Regions from separate parts of the Homo sapiens genome. Here regions 2, 3, 4, 5, 6 and 7 are each linked to region 1. Evidence: promoter capture Hi-C in 16 types of primary human blood cells and fetal thymus (Javierre and others, 2016). All regions are on one chromosome and are shown on one strand. The core of a region is centred on a gene start or on the middle of the fragment in contact, and the rest is flanking DNA. Distances in the headings are between cores, read along the strand shown.

Region 1 (3,106 bases), core at 339-2,838:
GATGGGCTCTGGCACCTACAGAGGCAGTAGAGTGGCAATGAAGGACATAGGAATTAGATGGGATTCCTGATCCTGGCTCTGTCACCTTCTTATGTTGTTGTGACCTTCGTCAAACACCTCTGCAAGTCTGTGTCTTTATCTGTAAAATGGAGATGATACTAATATCTGCCCTTTAGGGTGATTGTTGGTTGTGCTGGGGGCCAGTAGGAGAGATGGGGTTGGACTAACAAGAGGTTTGGGAGTGGGATAGATAGGTTTAGGAGTGTGCTTCCAGGAGGGGATCCAGAGCCTTACAGGACTTAGTGCTACATGAGGGCTTAGAAAGGACAGACTGGAAGCGTGTACGGCGGGTGGGGATTGGCAAAGGGGTGGAATCTGGATATTAGACTATTCAGCCTGAGGTTAAGACTATTCAGGGTCTCCTAATCAGGAGTTTGGGTTTTCTCCTAAGGGTGCTGGGGCCATGGAAGCCTGGGAGCGAGAGTGTGCCATGGTTTTATCATGTCTTAGAAAGATCCCTCGGCCGGGCACGGTGGCTCACGCCTGTAATCCCAGCACTTTGGGAGGCCGAGGCGGGCGGATAGCTTGAGGTCGGCAGTTCGAGGCCAGCCTGGCCAACGTGGTGAAACCCGTTTCTACTAAAATACAAAAATTAGCCGGGCATGGTGGCGGGCGCCTGTAATCCCAGCTACTTGGGAGGCTGAGGCAGAAGAATCGCTTAAACCGGGAGGCGGAGGTTGCAGTGAGCCTAGATGGCGCCACTGCACTCCAGCCTGGGCGACAGAGGGAGACTCCCTCTCAAAAAAAAAAAAAAAAAAAAAAAAATGTGAAGGGTAAACTGGAGGGAGGCAGAGTGCATGCAATCAATGCTGTGATCTCAGACAAGAGAATCTGTAAAAACACAAACAGGAGAGTTTATTTGAAGATTCAGGATTTGGGAAGCTGAACACAGGAAGAAAGGAGATGGTGCAACACACTTCTAAGCCTTGCTCAGGACTTGAAATCCAGAGTGCCTTCAGTTAAAAACTCAAACACTGACCCTCAAGGTTGGACCCTTTTTGGCTTGAGAAACCACTAATTTTTCAGAGATGGGTAACTGAGACCCTAGAGAGGAAGGGAAGATTTGTTCAAGGTCACACAGGTAGTCGACAATAGGGCTCGACGCCCGGGTCCGGCTCCGCGTAGGGCATGGCGCTGCCTTGCAAAACAGCCACACCCGCCAGCGACATTCACAACCCACCCCCCAACCCTAGAGGACAGCGGGGAAATCCCACTTTCAGAACCGAGAAACTTTTTACAGCCTTGGAACACGGTAACTTTGGGAGGAGAGGCCACACCAGGTCTGTTTCCCCGCGCGCCCCTTCTCTCATTCCCTATTGGCTCTCTCTACCAGGGGTACCGTCTGGGGAACCTCTGGTCACCTTGTCCTCCGCGCGCTCTGTGGCGAAAGGGACCTGCGCAGGCGCGTGAAGGGCGCCTTCAGGGCCCGCGCTTTACGACACTTGTGCGGCAGCGGCGGCGGCCACCCGGCGCTCCTTCGCGACGGTTCGGCCGGGTGCCGCTGGCGGCCGTTGCCAGGGTAGGGGTCGCTTTGCGGCATGGCGATGGCGGAGGGCGAGAGGACTGAGTGTGCTGAGCCCCCCCGGGACGAACCCCCGGCTGATGGAGCTCTGAAGCGGGCAGAGGAGCTCAAGACTCAGGCCAATGACTACTTCAAAGGTGCGCCCGCCTGGCAGGGAGGGTGGACAGTGGCCCAGGCTGAGGGGTGCCGGGCCCGCGCGGAACCATAGCAACGCGGAGCTGCAGCCTGGGCGCGGGGCAGACACTACCAAGTGACCGGGCGTGGGGAGGCCCAGGATGGCGCTGCCAAGGAGCGACATAGGGGGCTTCGGAGAGTGATACCTAGGAGTGGCGTGCGGAGCGGGTGCTACTCAGTGGAGAGACTGAGGAGGGCGCCACCAATTGTGGGGCGAGAGGGGGACTGGAATGAGGGCGCTACCAAACGTGAGGCCTGTAGAGGGCGCTACCAGGCAGTGACATGTGGTGGGGGAGTGATTGATGGCGCTACCAAATGGGGAGTCCTGGGGTGGGTGCCGCCAAGTGGGGGGTAGAGGGGGCACAGCCCCAATAGAGAAGGCAATCGTGGGGGTGGGGAATGGATCATTAGATGGGGGGAACAAGGAAGTAGGAGATTTGGGCTGACCCGAGGAAAAGGAATGTGATGGTGGGGGCCTTGGGAGTAAGGGTGGGGATCCTTAAGAATAGTATCACTTAGAATATTGAGAGTCAAGTGTGGGGCACCCATTCATTCATTAATTCAACAAATATTTATTGAGTACCTGTTATGTGCCAAGGACTGTGCTTGACTTTGGGGATATAGCAGTGAATGAGACAGATGTGGCCCTGTCCTTAGCTTGTAATTTTGCAGGTGAACCAGACATGAAAAAAAAAAAAACAAAAAAAAACCATGTAAATAAGTAAAATACTTAAATTGTGATGAGTGCTTTGAAAGCAAACCAGCAGTGTGATGAAGTAGAGAATAAGGGTTGGAGGCTACTTTAGATAGGGTAGTGGGGGAAGGCCTTACTGAGCAGGAGGCGTTTAAGCTGAAACTCACAGAGGGAGAACTGGAGAGGAGTGTTCCAGGGAGGTAAAGCAGCCTGTGCAAAGGCCCTGGGATGGGGAATGAAAGGGTACTGGCATGGCTGGGGCTTTGGCTACTTAGGGGGAGACCAATAACAAGATGAGATTAGGACAGAGGCCAGATCATGCAGGGTCTCCGTGAGTCATTACAAAGACCAGTTTGGAATTTTTTTTTTTTTTTTTTTTTTGAGACGGGAGTTTTGCTCTTTTTGCCCAGGCTAGAGTGCAATGGCGCAATCTCGGCTCACTGCAACCTCCGCCTCCCTGGTTCAAGCGATTCTCCTGCCTCAGCCTCCCGAGTAGCTGGGATTATAGACGCACACCACCATGCCCAGATAATTTTTGTACTTTTAGTAGAGATGGGGTTTCGCCATGTTGGCCAGGCTGGTGTCGAACCTCTGACCGCAGGTGATCCGCCCATCTCGGCCTCTCAAAGTGCTGGGATTACAGGCATGAGCCACCA
Region 2 (3,106 bases), core at 192-2,691, 500 kb after region 1:
CTCCTGCTGAGCCAGGGAAAACCACTTCCTAGCAGGGCAGGGGTCCCAGGCAGGAAGGGACGTTGGGGGGCCTACACCAGGCAGCCACAGCCTGGGAGCAGAGCCGGAGACATATTCACACAGTTAGGAGAACTAGAAGCAAACCCACAGAGTTGACAAAAAGCTCTGCCTCTTACTCCCAAATTCCCTTGTATACCTCTCCCTGTTTTCTTCCCATTTGGAATCTCAAGTCCCCTCCGTCCTGAATCTCTGCATCCTCACGCCTCTGCTGTCCCCTCTAGATGCCCCCCAACCTTCCCTGTCTCCAATCCCCCTCCTCTGGAGTTGTTCCCTTTTGACCTCCACTTTCTCAGTCTCAGTTCCCCTCCTTGGGGCCTCAATGGGCTTTTTACTGGTGACATCCCTTGTCCCACTCCCAAGCTTCCTCCCTTCTTCAAAAGGTCACATTTTGCCTCCAAGGACCCTGTTCCTGGAGGAGACTCCGCCCCCGCTCTGACACTCTTTCTCATTCGTTTTCTTTCCCAACTTCCAGCCCAAAGAACCCTTTCCTAGATCCAAAGCCCCAACCTGGGGGATAGGGGCACTCCTAAATCCAATGTTGAGTCTTTGCCCCAACAAAGATTCCTCCCCAGGTCTCACACTTTCAAGCCTACTCCCCACCCCACAAGATCTCTCCTCTTGGAAAGACCTATTCAGTTGCTCCCCATTCTTTCCGAGTGTCCATCTTACCTCCAGGTCCTCTCTCCTTTTACAGCGCTTTCCCAGACCCTTAAGTTTCATTCCCTACAGTTGCCTCCTTTTGGTTTCCTGTGCCAGGTCTCTTCTTGAGATCATCCCTCTCTCACAGGCAGTCTCCTGCCCCTGTCTCAACATCCCCTCTCCACCTGCAATCAGATCCTTGTCTCTAGAGACTCCTCCCATCAAGAAAACCTCCCTCCCCTTTTCCAAGGTCTCGCGTTCTCGTCCCAGCGCTCCCGCCACACTTCCAGAGCGCCTTCCTCTTTCGGACGCCCTCTCCCCACCTCCAATGCCTTCTCGCTACCCACAAGACTGTGTCTCACGAGTTTCCTCTCGTTTCAAAGCTTCCAACCATCTACAACGTTTCCCACCTGCACAGCCCTTTCCCCTTGGAACACCACCCCCAATGCCCGTCGCCGCGAGACCCCTGGTAACCCCCGCGCGCAGAATCACCGCCCTGTGCCCTCCTTCCCGGCCCTGGATCGGTCCCAATCCCCAGAGCCCGCGCCTGACCCAGACCATCCGCGGCAGAGAAGGGACTTGTCAGCGCCCGATCCAGCCTCGGCTATTTACGCGTGGGCCCCCCCTCCGCCAGTCCCCGGCGTAGCGCTCCCCCGTTACCATGGCGACCCCCGTCCAGACCCCAGCGGCCCCGGTCCCGCGGCGACTGGGCAGCTCCGGCTCAGGGTGCAGTTGTAGGGCCCAGAGCTAGAGCGGACTTCCGGTAGAAAAACCCGCCTGCCTTCTCGCGCACAGACCCCTGGGAGTTGTAGTTTCACCAAAGGGGCCAGCCTGGGTGAAGATGGGTGAAGAGTCAGAGCCAGTCCTTTTCCTACCAAACGAGTCAGATCCCAAGTGCATGCTGGGATTTGTGGACAAACATCTTTACAGAGGACTACAATTCCCGAGATGCTGAAGAACCAGCGGTGAAGGCGTTGCATTCAGGGAAATGTAGTTCTCTTAGGTCCCCTCCCCCCACCCAGGGGAGAAGGGCATGCTGGGAATAGTAGTTTTAAATTTTAAAAAACTGTCCTGGGGAGATAGAAAATGTCTTTCCATTCCTCATCCAGTGATTTCTTTAATTTTTTTAAAAATAGAGACAGGGGTCTAGATATATTGCCTAGGTTGATCTCGAACTCAGCTTCAAGCGACCCTCAGCCTTCCAAATCACCAGGATTACAGGCATGAGCCACCACAACACCAAGCCAGTGTTTTGCTTAAAATACGTTGCGTGTGTCTCTCGGGAGACAACAGTTTAAAAGCATAAATTTGAACCGGCCCGGCGCGGTGGCTTACTCCTGTAATCCCAGCACTTTGGGAGTCCGAGGCAGGCAGATCACTTGGTTAGGAGTTCGAGACCAGCCTAGCCAGCATGGCGAAACCCCATCTCTACTAAAAATACAAAAAATTAGCCAGGCATGGTGGTGCGCACCTGTAGTCCCAGCTACTCGGGAGGCTGAGGCAGGAGAATCACTTGAAGCCCGGAGGCAGAGGTTGCAGTGAGCCCAGATCTCGCCACTGCACTCCAGCCTGGGCAATAGAGAGAGACTCCAAAAAAAAAAAAAAATCTCTAGTTTGGCGGGGGCATGATGGCCCATGCTTGTAATCCCAGCACTTTGAGAAGCTGAGGTGGGTGGATCACCTAAGGTCAGGACTTCGAGACCAGCATGGCCAACACGGTGAAACCATTTCTACTAAAAATATAAAAATTAGCTGGGTGTGATGGCAGGTGCCTGTAATCCCAGCAACTCGGGAAGCTGAGGCAGGAGAATTGCTTGAACCTGGGAGGCAGAGGTTGCAGTGAGCCGAGATCACACCATTGCACCCTAGCTGGAATGACAAGAGCGAAACTCTGTCAAAAAAAAAAAAAACCCTCCAGGTCAGCAGTTAGTTTAGTGTTTTTTTGGTGTGTCTTTGTTTTTGCTTTTTTCTGAAAGAGGGTCTCCCTTGGTCACCCAGGCTGTAGCGCAGTGGCATGATCTCAGCTCACTGAAGCCTCAACCTGCTGGGCTCAAGTGATCCTCCCACTTCAGCCTCCCGAGTAGCTGAGACTACATACACATGCCGTCACACCTGGCTAATTTTTTGTACTTTTTGTAGAGACAGGGTCTTGCTATGTTGCCTAGGCTGCTCTTGAACTCCTGAGCTCAAGCGATCCTCCCTCCTCCACCTCCCAAAGTATTGAGATTACAGGCGTGATTTTTTAAATGGCCTTTATTACATTTTAAAAATTATTTTATTTGCCCTATGAGTATGTGTGTATGTTTGTCTAGATCTCTCATTAGGTAGTGAGTTGTTGAGGGCAGGGACCCTGTCTGATAACTGTATCTTCATTACCTAGAACATGACAGATGGTAAGCAGTCAATA
Region 3 (3,106 bases), core at 388-2,887, 440 kb before region 1:
AGGCAGCCTGCCTCCAGAGTCACTACTCGACACTGCATTTAATGAAATCCTGCCTGTGCTGATGACCCCAGGTGTGGACCTGAGTCAGGCCTCCTAAATCTGGTTCCATTCCTGGCTCTTGACAGTTACTAGCTATCGGAACTGAGGCAAGTCATTTCATTTTTCTGAGCTTCAGTTTCCCTAGCTATAAAATGGGGCGAAGGACAGCATCCACCTCACAGGGCTGCAGCAAGGCTTTGATGAGACATGTAAAAGGCTTGCAACAGCGCAGGCACACAGCCTACTCTGAAGACACTCACCTGCACGTCGGTCCTCCCGGCGGTCTTCCGACAACACGTAGCGCTGAGGGCAGGCGCTTGGGGGCGGCGGCTGTGAAGAGGGGGCCGCAGGGGGCTCCTCCGCCCCAGCACCTGCCCCCGGCGCCGCCACACCTGGCCCCAGGATGGCAAAAATGGTCTCCTCTTCCGCGGAGAAAGCGTCCTCCGCGGCGGGCCCGGCGCCCTGCGTGGAGTGCGGCACGCGAGCGAGCTTCTCCTTGGTGCGGCGCTTGAAGTCGTTCCAGCGCTTCTGCACCTCCTGGCCCGTGCGCTTCCAGCTGGTGATACCGTTGATCTTGGCGGCGATGCCGTCCCACACGCGCCGCCGCTCTGCCACGCTCACCCGACGGCTCTGCGCGCCGTAGAGCTGCGGGTAGTGGGCGCGCACCTCGCGGATCAGGATCTGGTTCTCTTCGAATGAGAAGCGCGGCTTGCGCAACCGGGTGGTTTCCTCCGCTTCGCCCGCCGCCGCCGAGGCCATGGCGCCCCCCGACGCCGCCGTCCTGCCGTCTGGCGCATGGGGGGCGCCGGCGCTGCGGGCAAAGGGCGCACGGGGCTGGCTGGGGTTCGGGGTCCCCCCGCCGCCGCCTCTCCCAGACCGCCGGGCCGAGAGCTCCTTAGTCCCCGGGGGCAGGAGTGGGGGCGGGGGGCGGGCGGGGGCGACGGGCACCCGGGTAAGTCGGAAGCGCCTAAGAGTAGCTGACACCGGCTGAGCGCTTGGCTCGGACTTCGCGCGGCGCGAAGTGCCACGCTGAAGAGTTGATAGAAATTGGGGGAGGGTCTGGAGGGATGGAAGGAAAGGAGGAAAAGTGCGAGGAGAGGAGGTGTCTGCAGGAGTTAGAGAATGGGGGCACGGGAGGATAGGAAATGGAGGGAGGATGGGGGTGCCTCGGGGGGGTCTTAGATGCATGAAGATAAGGAGATGCGGAAGGGGGGATGCAGCAAGAAGGGGGGAATCTGGAGCAGAGGAGGCGCTCTAGGGGCTCTAGGGGGCAACGGGGCGTCTGTAAGACCGATATGAGAAGGGCCCTTAGAGGGATGTCCAGGAATAATGGTGAGGTGGGAGCTCCTGTATCACTGGAAGAGCTGGAACGATCAAATATTAGGGATCAGGGTCTGCGAGGATTGTGGGGGCTCTGGGGATTGCCAGAAATTAAGGGGAGCTCTGGAAATAACGGGGGTCCCGTATCACAAGGAGACAACGGAGGCTACGGGGGACGGCAGGGAGAGCGAAGGTCGCGGAGGGTGGGGACCGAGTCGGGCCACGGGTCACTCACCGGCTCCGCCGCAGCCGCCGGTGGGTCAGGGCTCGGGCTTCTGCGGCCTGTTCCCACCCCCCGCCTCCCTCCCTCCCCTCTTTCGGCCCCGCCTCCGGCCGCCCCGCATGCCAAGGCGCAGGCGCGCCCAGGGCCAGTCGGCCCCAATGCCCTTACCGCCAGGGTTTCATTCCCACCTACCCCAGCACAGCGCAGGCGCAGAACTGCGCTCCGCCGAGCCCCACCAGCAGGCCGCAACTGCGCAGCCGCAACGTTAGCGCCGCGCGGGTACCCCAGCTTCCTGGGGCCACAACGGCGCACGCGCAAAAACTCCATCGCGCGCATGCGCGTGCCTCGGGTTGTACCCGGTACCGGGTCTCGGCGCAGGCGTTGCGAGCTTGGATGGGAGAGATGCTGGGAGCGCGCCAGTACCCAACCTTTCGGACAGTCTTCCAGCCCACCCTGCCCTCTAACCAAAGGGGAGGGAGACAGCGCTGAAGGGAAGCGCTTTGTCTCCTTGACAACTGTGTGGGTGGGGTGGAGGCGTGAGGAAACCGCTTTGCCTCCTGGCTTGCCCGCCCCTGCGCTGGGCCGCTCCAGAGCTTCCCACCTCGCACCCCTAGAGGCTGGGCGTCCTGGGGATGTCCCGCCCCGGGCGGATGCAGTAACCATAGCGACCCACAAGCCTTCCAGTCACGCCTTGGGGGCCCCTCTGTGCGCACCTTTACCTCGAGGAGCGGGGAAAATAAGAGGGAAGAGCTTCCTGGCTGGTAGGAAGGGAGATCCTGACGCCGGCACGACTTTAAGCAAGTGCATGGAGACAGGAATGAAGCCAGAACGCAGGTGGGGTGAGCCGCATGGCAGGATGATGGAGCTCAGTCCGGCTGAGAAGTGTGTTCGTTAGCATCCTGCAGGAGTCCTCAAGGTCATTCGACAATTGGTGCTTCATTCATCGACTCAATAAATATACATGAGCACTTACACAGTTCCTGGTACAATGAACATAAAAGCTAAAATCCGTAGCCTGGGCCGGGCGCGGTGGAGCTCACGCCTGTAATCCCAGCACTTTGGGAAGCCAAGGCGGGCGGATTACCTGAGGTCAGGGGTTCGAGACAAGCCTGGCCAACACAGTGAAACCCCATCTCTACTGAAAATACAAAAACTAGCTGGGCATGGTGGTGCATGCCTGTAATCCCAGCTACTCGGGAGGCTGAGGCACGAGAATCGCTTAACCCCGGGAGGCAGAGGTTGCAGTGAGCTGAGATTGCACCACTGCACTCCACCTGGACGACAGAGTGAGACTCCGTCTCAAAAAAAAAAAAAAAAAAAATACATGCCTGTAGTCCCAGCTACTTGGGAGGCTGAGGCGGGAGGATCGCTTGAGCCCAGGAGTTGCAGGCTGCAGTGAGCTATGATCAGGCCACTGCTCTCCAGCTTGGGCAACAGAGTAAGACCCTGTCTCAAAAGAAGAGAGAGAGAAAAAAAAGGCCCCTCTGCCTGCTGTGTGGAGGGTGGGTGGGAGGGAGCAAGACT
Region 4 (3,106 bases), core at 400-2,899, 440 kb after region 1:
TGGGAAGAGGGCCTGGTGGGAGTTACTCAGATCTCAGATCCTCCAGGGGCTCCTTACCCAAACTCTCCAACCCTGGCCCCAAATTATATCTAGAAGCCCCATCTTGGGGCCCTTGACCACGCAAAGATTCCCCCCGCAAAAGTTCCTCCTGGGGTCCCCTCCCCTCAGTGTCTTTCTCCCCTAGGCAGACCCTCCTATGTCTCCCCAAATCACTTTCTTCTCCCTCTATAAGACCCCACTTATGTACCCAGGCCCCCAGATTTAGAAACCCCTTCCCCAGGAGACTAGACTCACACTCCCGAGGGCTGGAGCCTCCCCTCAATATCCTGTCGAGTTTTCCTAAGACTCTAGAGGGAAGTCTCTGCTCCAGGGGCCCCAAAGCCCCGTCCTGTCCACGTGACCACTCCCGCCATCCGTAACACTCTTCCCCACCTCCCGGGGGAGCGGGAGCTGACCTCGCAAGATCCAGGAACGAATCGAGCACCTCCTTGCTGGGGGCATTTTCGGCACTGCCCGCGGCTCCCACGGAGGCGTTGATGGCGGCGGAGGCGGCGCCCGGCTGCAGAGCCAGCGCCAAGCCCACTCCGAGCGCCGACGCCAGCAGCGTGGTGACCAGGAAAAAGAGCAGCGCCCAGGCGCCCAGACGGCCGAGCGCGCCGGGGTCCAGGCTGGCGGCGCCGCCGATCAAGCTGCACACCACCAGCGGCAAGATGATCATCCGCAGCAGACGCAGCAGCAGCTCGCCCGGGAAGACGAAGGCGCTCAAGCGCTCCGGGCCCAACGCCAGCGCACCCCCGGCCCCCGACACCCCCAGTCCCAGCGCCACGCCGGCCACCACGGCCACCACTGTCAGCAGCACAAGCAGGTTGGCTCGAAGGCAGCGGCGCACCTGGTCCCGGGAACCGCAGTAGCCGCCTGCTGCCGCGCCTTGGTCCTCGATGGAGGCCAGCGCCAGGCCCCCGTTGGCGGTGGGCTCCGCCGCTGCGAGCCCCTTGGAGTCTCGAGGAGGATCGGCCACCATGATGGGAAGCACCGGGGTTTCTTAGCGCCTGGAAGCTGGCTGGGAGCGCTTGGGCTCCTTCCCAGGACCCGACGTTCCTAGGACTGAGTTGAGTAACAGCACCTGGAGACTGGAACTTTGGAGGGCTCCTTAGAGTTGTGAGTTCACAGCACTGAAGTTCCTTGGCTCTTGGAAGCTGGAGTGTTTAAATTCCCCAGGCTGGGCGCTGAGGCTTCTCTGCTCTGCCCCGTGTGCCAGATGTCCGAAAGCTGGGAGTTCGGAGCGCCCGGGTTCCTTGGCCCTAGGAGCTGGGAATACGAGAGTTTCTCTGGGTGGGACGTGGGGCCCTTGGCTCCAGGAGGTTGAGTGCCCCCAGATGGCGGAGGTCTGCAGGAGGCTAGGTTCTGGTGGCGCAGATCCCGGACGCCTGGATCCGGGAGGCGGGGACCCGGGCTGCCTGGGTCTTGGACACTGAGGGCTGGGATGCCAGAATCTGGGGGCCGGGAAGCGGACCTCCGGAAACAGGGGACCCAGGCTCTTAGGTCCGGGAGGGTGGGATGCGGGCCCCTGTGTACGGAAGGCGGTGGTCTGGTGTCCGGGAGTAGCGGTTACCAGCCAGAGAAAGCCTCCCGGGCGTGCCGCGTGGCTCTGAGCCCGTTTAGCGGAAGCTGCCAGGGATAAGGGTAGGGGGCGGGGCTTGAGAAGGCGGGGACCGACCCTCGGGCGCCGATTGGCTGCAGAGCGTTCGGAGACTGGACGAGTAGGGGCGGGGCTGATACCCGAGATGGGCCAGGTCCCCCATAGAAGGCAGATTAATAATACCCATCTCCAGGAGCCGGGCCCAGAGACGACGGGGCGGGGCCAGGAAGGGGCGGGGCCTTGGGAGGGTGCTGTTTCCCGCCAAAGGAACTGGGTTGTGGGTTGGAGCCCTTAAACCACAGGGGTTCGTTCCCTGGTGCGAGGGTCGCTAGAAAGCTCCGGTGGTCCTCGGTGATTCATTTGCAACTCAACTCAGCTTTGGAACTCCTCAGCCCTGAGTTTGGTCTTTAGTCGCCTCTGAGAACTTTAATTCCTCGAATATAAAGTGCAGGTGTTAAAAGCTTTTGTCTCATATGATTGCTGTAAGATTTAAATAAAATTGATGTATTTATTTAGGGAGCCGTGGCTCAAGCCTGTAATCCCACCACTTTGGGAGGTGAAGCGGGCGGATCACTTGAGGTCAGGAGGTCGAGACCAGCCTGGCCAACATGGTGAAACCCGTCTCTACTAAAAATACAAAAATTACCTGGTGTGGTGGCACGTGCCTGTAATCCCAGCTACTGGAAGCCTGAGGCAGGAGAATCGCTTGAACCCCAGAGGCAGAGGAAGTCATTCACCTTGAGGCCACACCTAGAGAGGATGACACGTGCATGCCCACCTCCCAAGCCCCTAACCGCACCCACTCTGCTGCCTCCCCAAATTCTCTGTTAGTGGCCGTTTGGGAGGTTAACAATGAATTATGATTCCTTACTCCACCTGACAGTGTTGAAATCCTCATTCCTTTCCCATCTCTAGCCTGTTCTGTGACATTTCAGGCTTTCATGCTTGCTCAAAGATTGTAGTGGTAATGTCAGAAGCTTCCTCCTACAGCAGCTGTGAGGCCTCAGGTAATTTACAACCTCTATGAGGCTCAGTCTTCATATGTGTAAATGGGAATAATAATAAGTCATACCGCCTTGAGTGTTGCAAGGGTTCAAATGAGATAATACGGCCGGGCGCAGTGGCTCACGCCTGTTATCCCACCACTTTGGGAGTTGATGCGGGCAGATCACTTGAGGTCAGGAGTTCCAGACGAGCCTGGCCAACATGGCAAAACCCTGTCTCTGCTGAAAATGCAAAAATTAGCTGGGTGTGGTGGCACATGCCTGTAATCCCAGCTACTCAGGAGGCTGAGGCAGAAGAATTGCTTGAATCCAGGAGGCAGAGGTTGCGAAGAGCCGAGATCTCACCACTGCACTCCAGCCTGGGTGACAGAGTGAGACTCCACCTCAAAAAAAAAAAAGTTATTTATTTGTGCTTTAAAATTTTTTGTTCTTTCTCTCTTCTTTTGTTTCTAACAAAAATGCC
Region 5 (3,106 bases), core at 447-2,946, 400 kb after region 1:
GGAGGGTCTTTACTCATCCTATGAACAAAATGCTTTTTTTTGAGACAGGATCTCACTCTTTTGCCCAGGCTGGAGTGCAGTGGTGCAATCATGGCTCACCGCAGCCTCAACCTCCGGGGTTTAAGCAATCCTCCCACCTCAGCCTCCTGAGTAGCTGGGACTACAGGCGCATGTCACCACACCCGGCTAATTTTTGTACTTTTTTGTAGAGATGAGGTCTTGCTATGTTGGCCAGGCTGGCCTCGAACTCCTGGGCTCAAGGGATTCTCCCACCTCAACCTCCCCAAGTGTTGGGATTACAGGCGTGAGCCACCGCACCCCATCCCTACCGACACAATTCTCATCAGCTATTTATTTGGGTACCAGCTTCCTACTAGATAGCAAACGGCAAATCGGAAGGGGAAAGGTGGGCTGCTACAAGCAGGTAATGACAATTTCTGCTAATAATAACCCAGTCCAAGAATCTTCAGACTTCCAGCGGGCCATTCCTGATCCCTTCAAATCCGGACATCTCCATGGTCCTCCAGTCACTGCCAATGGACCTGACGCTCCACGAGGTCACAAACCCTAGCCCAACTCCTCAGACTCTTCCATTCAACATCCCTGTCCCAAGCTACCCCAAAAACCACGGGGTCTTTTCCCAAGACTTCCACAAACATATCCCCTTCCCCCCAACCCCAGTCTACCCCCGTTCCGAGATGCCTCCTCATGTTGCCTTCGGGCTCTACAAAATTCTCCCCCCTAAAGCATCACCCCAGGGTAACCCCTAACTCGTCCTCATTGGCACCATCCCAGGACCCTCACCTCCATACTGGACATGCCCAACACCCCACACTCCAGTTCAGGGCTCTCTACCTACATCCTACAACACACGTGCCATCTCAGTGCCATCGCGCCCACTCCTGCACACCCCCAAAGTGGAACTTCCACTCTTAAGCTCTCCCATCCAGGCTCCTAGGGTACATTCCCTGCTCTGTCCACACTTCCACTCCAAAGAACCCTTCCCTGCACTGTGCAGCCACACATGCCCGGGATCCCCAAAGTTTCTCCTCAGAGGGGAAGGCACACACCTTCATCCTGGACCCCTTGAAACCCTCCTCCCACCCCTCGGGTCCTTACACAGCCCTCCTTCCGTGCCCACCGTCCAGTCGCCCCGAAACACACCGATCCCAGGTTCCCGACTTCCTCTCCCTAAATCCTCCCGGTTCCCCATCTGGACCCGCTCTTTCCCAGCGGGTCCCAAGTTCCCCCCTTGGACGCTCCCACCTCCAACCTGCACCTGGCTAGGGCCATGGTCGGGGTCGGGGTCGGGAGTCCCTCGGCGCCCGGCAAGCTTCTGCTTACTCCCACAGGAGACCACTCAGGTCTCCCAGACCCCTCCAGCTCCTCTCCACACCCTTTCCCGAGTTCTCTTAGCCTCCCCTCCAGGGCTCGAGTCGCCTCTCTCAGGAGCCCCGCGGCCAGCGTGCTCAGTCCCAGTCCCAGTCCCACTCCCAGCTGGTTGTGGTCCCTCCGCCCCTTTCTCTCGGCCGGTCCCGGTGATCCCTCCCACCCCCGGTCCCTCCACTCCCACCTCGGGCCGTCCCGGTCCCGTCCCACCCCGGAGTGCCCTCAGGACACCCCTCGGACGGCCCCTCACTCGCCCTCCGGGACCGTCGCGGTCCCCTCCCGCCCCCCCGCCGGCCGTCCCGGCGGCCATTGCTCCAAGATGGCGGCGGCGGCGGCAGCGGGTGAGGCCGGGCCGGGCCGGGCCGGGTTGGGGGTCGGGGGTCCCGGGACAGCGCTCACCTGTAACTCGGCGCGCTCGGCCTCCCAGCGGGCTTTCTCGGCTTCGAAGCGCGCCCACTCGTGCTGGATAAAGTGCAGGATCCCCGGCAGGCTCAGGGGCTCCGGGCCCGCCGTGGGCCCGGGGCTGCCTCCGCCGCCGCCTCCCTTACCTGCCGGGCCCGGCCCGGGGGCAGGGGCGGAGACCGGGGCCGCCCCAGTGGGGCCAGGGCCCGCGCCTGAGCCGAGCGGACGGCAGGAGGAGGCGGCGGCGGCGACCGCGGCGGCCGCTCGCTCCTCCATCATGGAGGCCCCGGGGCCGGCCTGCGCGCCCGCTGTGCCTCGCGCGCCTGCGCGGCCGCGCCAACACCCCCCCCCCTCCCCCGCCGCAACCACCGCGCGCGCGCCCGGCGGGGGACAGTAGGAAGGGGGGCCGGCGGCGAGCGCGAGCCTCGCCCACCCGGGTCTACACCGAAGGGTAGCGTGCCCGCGCGGGGGCCGGCGGGTGGGAGATCGCGCCCCGAGGAGGGCGAGGGAGACCCAGGCCCCGCGCGACGGTCCCCCTCGCTGGAGTGAGACTGAGGAAGGGGCCGCTTTCTGCCCCCCTCCTCCCACTTCGCCCCAGAGAAAGAGCCTTACCCCTTCCACACCCAAACACCACTCTCCTGGACAATTACTTTTACTCTGAGAGAAAGGGCGACCAGCAGTGGCCCCATCCTCTCTGATTGCCGGCCAGGTTGGTTGTCATGGTAACCCTTCCCCAGCGGTGGGGGCGAGGTGGTGGGGAGCAGCCTTCCCCTCGCTTCCACCTTTGTGGTTATGGAGCCCCAAACCTCTTAGGACTCTGCACCAGGAGAAGGTTGCTAAGGTAACCTAAGTGTCCGTGGTGGTCCTTCTGCTCCTATCCTCATTGATTACTATGGCAACCTCCCCCCCACCTAGCATTCAGGTAGAAAGGACCCCAGCCCCAAGGACACTGATCTCTAAGAGAAGCACCTCTTCCCCAGCCCCTCCCCCATAGCCACCTAGTTGGCATTACCATGGTAACCGTCTTCCCCTTCCCATCGTGGGAGGCCCATGCACCAAACTAACCAGGTGTTTTTATTTAGAGGAGATGCTCTGCTGAGGGGCAGTTGCTATGGTTACAGGGCCTGGACCTTCCTCCGGAAGGTGAGAAACAGGCAAGTTCAAGGCCTGGTTACTATGATAATAGAGCAGCCCCCTTCGAGTGACCCTAGGAACCAAGCCCAACAAAGGAGGGGATTTTTTTTTTTTTTTTTTTTTTTGAGACAGAGTGTAACTCTTGTTGCCCAGGCTGGGATGCAATGGCCCAATCTCGGCT
Region 6 (3,106 bases), core at 371-2,870, 370 kb before region 1:
CCCTGTTGCACACACCCCCTCTGATGTCACTGTTGCACACCTCCATGTGTCACACCCAGCCACAGCCTCTCTGGAGTCACACCCACACCCTTTTCTTGTCACATCCCCTCACCAGCCACGCCTGTGTCACACACACTGGACCCCTTTCCTCTGATCTACACGGCCTCTTCTGGCTGACACCCAGAGCCAGCCCATTCGGTGTCCCCCACACACCTCCTTGCATGTCACACACACCCTCTCATGTGTCACACTCTGCCACAGCCCCCTTGGGGGTGACAAGCACACACCTTTCCTTGTCACACGTACCCGCTGGAGGGTCTCAAACATGGAGCCCAGCCCCTGTCCCCTGTCTTTCTCATACACCCCCCTATGCTGTCATATTCCTGATCCCTAATGTCACACATCCAGGCTGTAGAGGGCACACATACACACACACGCACACACATACACACCTGTCCTAGCCTCACATTCTCCCACCTAGCTTTACACACCCACCATTTCCTCCATTTCACCCCACACACCTACCCAGCCTGTCCCCACGCACGATCCGGCCAGGGCCACACAAGCCTCCATCTGGGACAACCCTTGTTCAGGACATCCCCAGGGAGGGAGGCTGGGAAGCTCCCGGTCCACAGGCCTCTACTCCTTCCCCTCCCCCAGCCAGGACACGCGAGCTCGGGGAACACCCCTGCTCCGAAAGGGTCACATCACACACCCCTCAAGGACACACAGACACCTGCCCTGAGGCTCCCACGCCCCCCATCTTCTGCGCCCCCCAAGGACACTTATCACCCCCTCCCCCCCACCCCTCTCCTCGCAGACAAAGCTCCCAGCCCCGGGCCTCAGCGAGAGGAGGAGGGGGTCCAGCCCCCTCCTCAACTCCCCGCTCTGTCCCCCGCCTCGGGGAGGGGTGTCTCTCCCCTCCCCAGAGCCCTTGCACCTGCCACGGGAGGGGGGGAAAGGATGGAGAAAGGCGAGGCCCCCTGCCCGCTCCCCCGCCCCGAGCCGCAGCCCTTTCTCACCTCCCGTGTTGCTGCGCTTGGTGCAGACCACCTCGGGGGGCGTTTCGAGGGGCCTCTTGCGGGAATCCGGGGCCTCGGGCTCCATGGGGGGGGCCTGGGGCGGCGGCTGCTGCTGCTGCGGCGGCTGCGGCGGCGGCGGCGGCGGCTGCTGTGGCGGCGGCGACGGCTGCTGGGGAGGCTGGGGTTGCGGCGGCGGCGGCGGCGGGGGCGGCGGCGGCTGCGGGGCCGCGGAGGCCGTGAAGAGGCCGTGCACCGCGCCGGCGGCCATCATCCTCATGGTGGGGGGGGGCGGGGGGCGGGGGGCGGGGGAGGGGGAGGGGAGGGGAGGTGGGAGGGGGAGGGGGCGGTGGAGGGATGGGGGAGGGGGAGCCCCGGAGAGGGAAGGCGGGGGTAGGGGGGAGCCGGTTCTCGGGGGGCTGACAGAGCCTGGAGAGCGGCCGTGAGCAGGATGGCAGGGCCGAGGGGGGTCTCCGATAGGGCCGGGAAAGAACTGAGAGGTGGGGTCTCTCCTGGGACCACAGAGGCTGGGGACTGGACGCGCCACTGGGGGGACGGGACTCCCCGCTTCTTCTTGGCTCCCTGGGGCAAGAGGGCCGAGCCCCCCAGACCCTGCTCGGGGTGGGGGGCCGGAGGAGCGTGGCCGGAGTGGGAGGCGGAGGCGGCCGCTAGTGGGGGCCCGGGGGGCGGCGGGCGCGGGCGGCGGCGGCGACGGGGCTGGCGGTGGCTGCTGGCCCGAGCATCTTCTTCCCGGAGGCTCCCACAGCGCCTGGCCCCTCCCACCCAACGAGGTCACGCCCATGCCGGGTAGGGCCACGCCCTTCGGCGCCCCCATTGGTCCAGCCTTGAAGCCTGGACCACGTCCCTCTGGGTTGGCCACGCCCCTCCCGGCGGCAGAGAGCTGGACCCGACTCCCCCAGGCTGCTGGGAGGACCCCGGGCTCCTCCAAGCCGTCCCCACTCCTCACCTTGAATGAACGTTTATTGAGCACTTACTGTGTGCCAGGTCCGGTTCCAAGCAAGCACGTCACAGACGTTATCGCATTTACTCCCCAGAGCGACCAGCTCTGTGAGTTACGCTTATTATCCCTATTTTACAGATGAGGAAACAGCCTTAGGAGCTTACTTTGACTTCACTTGGTCAAGACAAGAAATTTCGACTAGGCGCGGTGGTTCATGCCTGTCATCCCAGCACTTTGGGAGGCCGAGGCGGAAGAATCACTTGAGCCCAGGAGTTTGAGACGAGCTGGGCAACAATATTGTGAGACCCCATCTCTACAAAAAAAAAATTTTTTTTTTAATTAGCCAGGCGTGGTAGCACATGCTTGTAGCCCCAGGTACTCTGGAGTCTGAGGTGGGAGGATCTCTTGAGCACAGGAGTTTGAGGCTGCAGTCAGCCATGATCAAGCAACTAGATTCGAGCCTGGGAGACAGAGCAAAACCTTGTCTCAAAAAAAAAAAAAAAAAAGAAAGAAAGAAAGAGAAAGAAATTTCACTTCACTCTTTTTCAATCCTTTCAGCTGGGAAATTCCCCTTCAAATCTTTCATCCATCCTTTGAAGAATCAACACCGTGATGCTGAAAGGGCTCAGAGGATTGAATTCACTGAGCTGGAGTTGCAGCCTGCAGCACCTGCCCTGGGGCACAACTGGCTCTCCATTCAAACAACAGCACTCAGGGCCTACCTACTAAGTGCCAGGCACTGTCCCTGATGCTGCGATACAATAGAGAACAAAACAGCCTTGGCCCTTGTACAGTATTACTACTCATGTCATTAAGAAAAATTTGTTTTCAGATGACAAAGTGGAGGCCTGGGAACATTGAGGGTGGCTTCTTCAAGGGCACACAGCTTGAGAGAGAGAAACTGGGATGAGAACGCAGGACAAGTCCAATTTCAGAGCCCAAAGTCATTGGAACTAGGGTGCCTTTCTTTGGAATGGATCATTGCTATTATTCTGTGTTCCTTGATGCAAGAATTTCCTTCTCCCTGGGTTCTTAACCTCCAAGGAATCTTTCCTTCCTGGGTTGGTCAGAGGCAAGATTAGGCTCAGAAGGGGTCTGGATGCAGGTAATTGTGGCCACTGCGTGA
Region 7 (3,106 bases), core at 160-2,659, 320 kb before region 1:
CTGTTCTCCCCACAGCAGCCAGAGGGAGTCTCTTGTACCTACACTAGCCCTGGTCCCTGCTCTGCGGGGGGAAGCCTCCCATGGCTCCCATCTCGGAGTAAAAGCTACAGTCCTCACTGTGGTCCACAAAGCCCTGCCTGGTCCTGCCCTTTCCTCATTTCATTCCGCTCGCCCGGCTGTGTTCAGCCACCCTGTCCTTCCCACAGGACCCGCCCACTCAACCCCGTTGGCTTTGCCCCCAGCACCCCCTGCCACCTGCAGGCCTCTGTCTGCTCCCCCATCCCAGAGCCAAGGCAGCCACTCTCAGGGAGGCTTTCCCTTGCCCCACCCTTCCAAGGAGCCTGTGTGGGTCTGGTCCCAGCCTGAGGTCACCCTCCCTCACCTCTTTCCTTTTATCCATCGCCTCTATCACCGTCTGAATTCACCTGTGGCCTTGGCTTGTTTCTCCCTGCTGGTCTTTCAACCCCAGGAGGCTAGAGTGGCACCGTTCTCCATGCCACATCTGGCACACTGCCTGGCACATAGTAGGTGCCTAATGGTAATAGCCCGTGGCTTTGCGGGCCCCCGTGTGCCAGGCAGTTCCTAGGTGCTTTGCCTGTATTGGCTCATATAAGGAGCAGATGGGCCGCGATTCCATTGACTTTGCCGAGGAGGAAGCTGAAGCCGGGAGGACCCGCCCCAGGCCTCAGCCAGCAATAAGATGAGCTGACCCTGGAACCCAGCTCCGCACTGAGTCAGCCTGGTTTTCCGCCTCCTAACAAAGGCACCAGGCATCAGGAAGGGGCGCCTTCATAAGGCGTCGCGGACACCTTGGTGTGTGTTAGGCAAAGCCTGCCCCTTCTTCCCGGGAGCGGGAGCGGGGCTTGGATTTCAGCCCATCCCCCCTTCTCACGCATCTTTGTGCTGTGAGCACCTGCCCCGGCCCACGTGGTGACCCGAGGAAGAAATGACCTTGTGAGGTTCAGTAAGCTGCTCAGGGTGTCAGCCAGGTGGCCTCAGCACCAGGCCTAGAAATGGTCCCGCTGGCGGGCACTTGCACACCTTTGCCTCTGGGATCCCCAGTCCAGCCCGTGCCCCCCTGCCACACTCACTTGTAGCCCACGTCGCACCAGCCCAGTGTCTTCATGTGGTAGTGCTGCACATTCCGGGCCTGCTGCTGGCACGAGGCGGGGGTGTTGCAGCTGCTGCCCGCCGTGTGCGATACCACCACATAGCGTAAGGGCAGGCTCAGGTGCTGGGCGCACTCTGATGCCAGGGCCTTCCACTCGTTCCGGGGCACTATGGGGCTGCAGCAGGCCGGGTCTTCTGTCTCCTGAGCCGCTCCGAGTCGAAGGAGGCTGGGGAGAGCCCAGGCAAGCAGCATAGAGCGGCGGGACATAGTGGCAGGGCGGCAGGGTCCGGGAGACCGCTAGGAGCGCCCGGTGGAGGGGCCGCCTTTATCTGCTGGGGGATTCCAGGAGTGGCCCGGAAAGTCTTGCTTCACACCCTGCTGGGACTTCCTGCTGGCCCAGCAGACCCCAGACTCAGCTTCCTTCTCTGGCTGGGCCAGGGCGGGATGCACTGTGGTTGGGGTCTGGGTCACGCCCACGGCAATGACAGGCCCCCTCGCTCAGCAGGGAGGGACGCACAGGCCCCTGGGCGCTTCGCCCCGCCGTTTCTGGAAGACCCGGGGCCGGGATCCCGGTCCTGCTTGTCTCTCCTCTCAGTGGAACATTGAACAACTCAACAGGAACTTACATCGCAGAGGCCCGGGGCATTGGCACATCTTCTCCCCGCAAGGACTGAGGTAACAAAGCTACCCATTTTAAAAACACTTCCTTCCCCCAGGTCCAAGCCTGATGCCATTTACGCTTGCAGCAAACTCAAGAGGTGAGTATCTGGAAGTCCATTTCACAGTGGAGTAAACTGAGGTTGAGAGCAGGGAAGTCACGGGCTGAGACACCGGAGGCACTGGAGCCCCGCGTCTAGAGCCAGGCTGCCTGCATGTGAATCCTGGATATGCAGTGTGTGAGAGCCTGCAAGTGGTTTTTAAAAATGTGTATTTAAAATTTTTTTTTTAATTTTCTATTTTATAAATAATATTTTCCTTTTTTTTTTTTTTTTTTTTTGAGATGGAGTTTTGCTCTTGTCACCCAGGCTGGAGTGCAATGGTGCGATCTTGGGCCACTGCAACCTCCGCCTCCTGGCTTCAAGTGATTCTCCTGCCTCAGCCTCCTGAGTAGCTGGGATTACAAGTGCACACCACCACGCCCAGCTAATTTTTATATTTTTGGTAGAGACGGGGTTTTGCCATGTTGGCCTGGCTGGTGTCGAACTCCTGACCTCAGGTGAGCCACCTGCCAGTGTTCCAGAGTGCTGGGATTACTATAGGCATGAGCCACCGTGCCTGACCTGTGTGGTGTGTTTTCATCTTCTGTGTTCTGCCTTCTCATATACATTGTACTCATGCTGTTACTGAATTGTGCACCAGGCATCTGTAGCACTTTTCAGAAATTATCATATACTCAACGACAAGCTTGCCAGATCCATGTTATTATTAACCCCTCTTACAGTTGACGGAACTGAGGCCCGGGGGGATGATCACATACAGGAGGTGATGAAGCCAGGGTTTGGCTACAGGCTTTCTGCCTGCAGAGTTATAAACCGTATTCTCCTCCCTACAAACTTATATAAGGACATTAAAAAAAAAAATCAAAACCATGTGCATCAATTTACCTTTTGTCACCTAATATTTCATGGGCATCTCACCAGGGCAGTACATCTAATTCTAATTTATTCTTTATAATAGTTGCACAATATGCTATAGTATCAGTTCAGCATTGTGGATCTTTTAGTTTTTGAAGGTTTTCCAGTATTTTCTCCACACTACGCAAAATATTTTCAGACATATATCCCTATGCACTGGTGCATTTATAAGTAAATTATAAACACAGAGTTATTAGGTCAATGAGTATACATATTTAATTAATATTACCAGATCATTTTCCCCAAAAAGCCATTAATAATTCATATTTTTCACCAGTAATGTTTTGGAGCCTCCTCACCCCGACCCCAGAAGTGGGTGTTATCACTTTTTTTTTTTTTTTTTTGAGTCAGAGTCTCGCTC

The links. The method cuts DNA at HindIII sites, captures the fragments that hold promoters and counts their contacts. A CHiCAGO score of 5 or more calls a contact.
Region 2: the fragment with the promoter of AP2S1 here is called in contact with the fragment with the promoter of PPP5C in region 1 in 1 of 17 cell types (monocytes); the score reaches 6.2 in monocytes.
Region 3: the fragment with the promoter of MYPOP here is called in contact with the fragment with the promoter of PPP5C in region 1 in 5 of 17 cell types (endothelial precursors, total CD4 T cells, erythroblasts and 2 more); the score reaches 7.9 in endothelial precursors.
Region 4: a contact is called between the fragment with the promoter of SLC1A5 here and the fragment with the promoter of PPP5C in region 1, in 1 of 17 cell types (non-activated CD4 T cells). The highest score is 5.8, in non-activated CD4 T cells.
Region 5: the fragment with the promoter of FKRP here is called in contact with the fragment with the promoter of PPP5C in region 1 in 4 of 17 cell types (non-activated CD4 T cells, total B cells, naive CD4 T cells and 1 more); the score reaches 7.4 in non-activated CD4 T cells.
Region 6: a contact is called between the fragment with the promoter of NOVA2 here and the fragment with the promoter of PPP5C in region 1, in 13 of 17 cell types (M0 macrophages, erythroblasts, neutrophils and 10 more). The highest score is 13.0, in M0 macrophages.
Region 7: a contact is called between the fragment with the promoter of PGLYRP1 here and the fragment with the promoter of PPP5C in region 1, in 5 of 17 cell types (naive CD4 T cells, non-activated CD4 T cells, total CD8 T cells and 2 more). The highest score is 7.7, in naive CD4 T cells.

What each region holds. Positions count from the first base shown.
Region 1 is chr19:46,345,499-46,348,604 of GRCh38, forward strand. It overlaps PPP5C (protein phosphatase 5 catalytic subunit), which reads left to right and starts at 1,589. Exons shown (of 13, transcript NM_006247.4): 1 at 1,589-1,719. The coding sequence starts at 1,599. RefSeq lists enhancers at 1,427-1,606, 1,707-1,836. The HindIII fragment of the contact is 16,758 bases long and covers 1-3,106 here.
Region 2 is chr19:46,849,405-46,852,510 of GRCh38, forward strand. It overlaps AP2S1 (adaptor related protein complex 2 subunit sigma 1), which reads right to left and starts at 1,442. Exons shown (of 5, transcript NM_004069.6): 1 at 1,360-1,442. The coding sequence starts at 1,362. RefSeq lists an enhancer at 1,457-1,766. The HindIII fragment of the contact is 13,627 bases long and covers 1,081-3,106 here.
Region 3 is chr19:45,900,976-45,904,081 of GRCh38, forward strand. It overlaps MYPOP (Myb related transcription factor, partner of profilin), which reads right to left and starts at 1,638. Exons shown (of 3, transcript NM_001012643.4): 1 at 1,595-1,638; 2 at 300-850. The coding sequence starts at 798. RefSeq lists enhancers at 1,401-1,450, 1,881-1,990 and silencers at 1,641-1,690, 2,251-2,330. The HindIII fragment of the contact is 7,646 bases long and covers 1-3,106 here.
Region 4 is chr19:46,786,945-46,790,050 of GRCh38, forward strand. It overlaps SLC1A5 (solute carrier family 1 member 5), which reads right to left and starts at 1,650. Exons shown (of 8, transcript NM_005628.3): 1 at 456-1,650. The coding sequence starts at 1,021. RefSeq lists silencers at 728-777, 788-837, 1,808-1,967 and enhancers at 1,318-1,919, 1,568-1,862. The HindIII fragment of the contact is 4,388 bases long and covers 1-2,098 here.
Region 5 is chr19:46,744,361-46,747,466 of GRCh38, forward strand. It overlaps FKRP (fukutin related protein), which reads left to right and starts at 1,697. Exons shown (of 4, transcript NM_024301.5): 1 at 1,697-1,730. It overlaps STRN4 (striatin 4), which reads right to left and starts at 2,090. Exons shown (of 18, transcript NM_013403.3): 1 at 1,789-2,090. The coding sequence starts at 2,070. RefSeq lists silencers at 1,636-1,865, 2,076-2,125, 2,136-2,285, 2,326-2,425, 2,466-2,515. The HindIII fragment of the contact is 3,497 bases long and covers 1,332-3,106 here.
Region 6 is chr19:45,972,245-45,975,350 of GRCh38, forward strand. It overlaps NOVA2 (NOVA alternative splicing regulator 2), which reads right to left and starts at 1,621. Exons shown (of 4, transcript NM_002516.4): 1 at 1,023-1,621. The coding sequence starts at 1,107. RefSeq lists a silencer at 1,787-1,946. The HindIII fragment of the contact is 31,968 bases long and covers 1-3,106 here.
Region 7 is chr19:46,021,644-46,024,749 of GRCh38, forward strand. It overlaps PGLYRP1 (peptidoglycan recognition protein 1), which reads right to left and starts at 1,410. Exons shown (of 3, transcript NM_005091.3): 1 at 1,092-1,410. The coding sequence starts at 1,378. RefSeq lists an enhancer at 18-903. The HindIII fragment of the contact is 5,413 bases long and covers 1-2,513 here.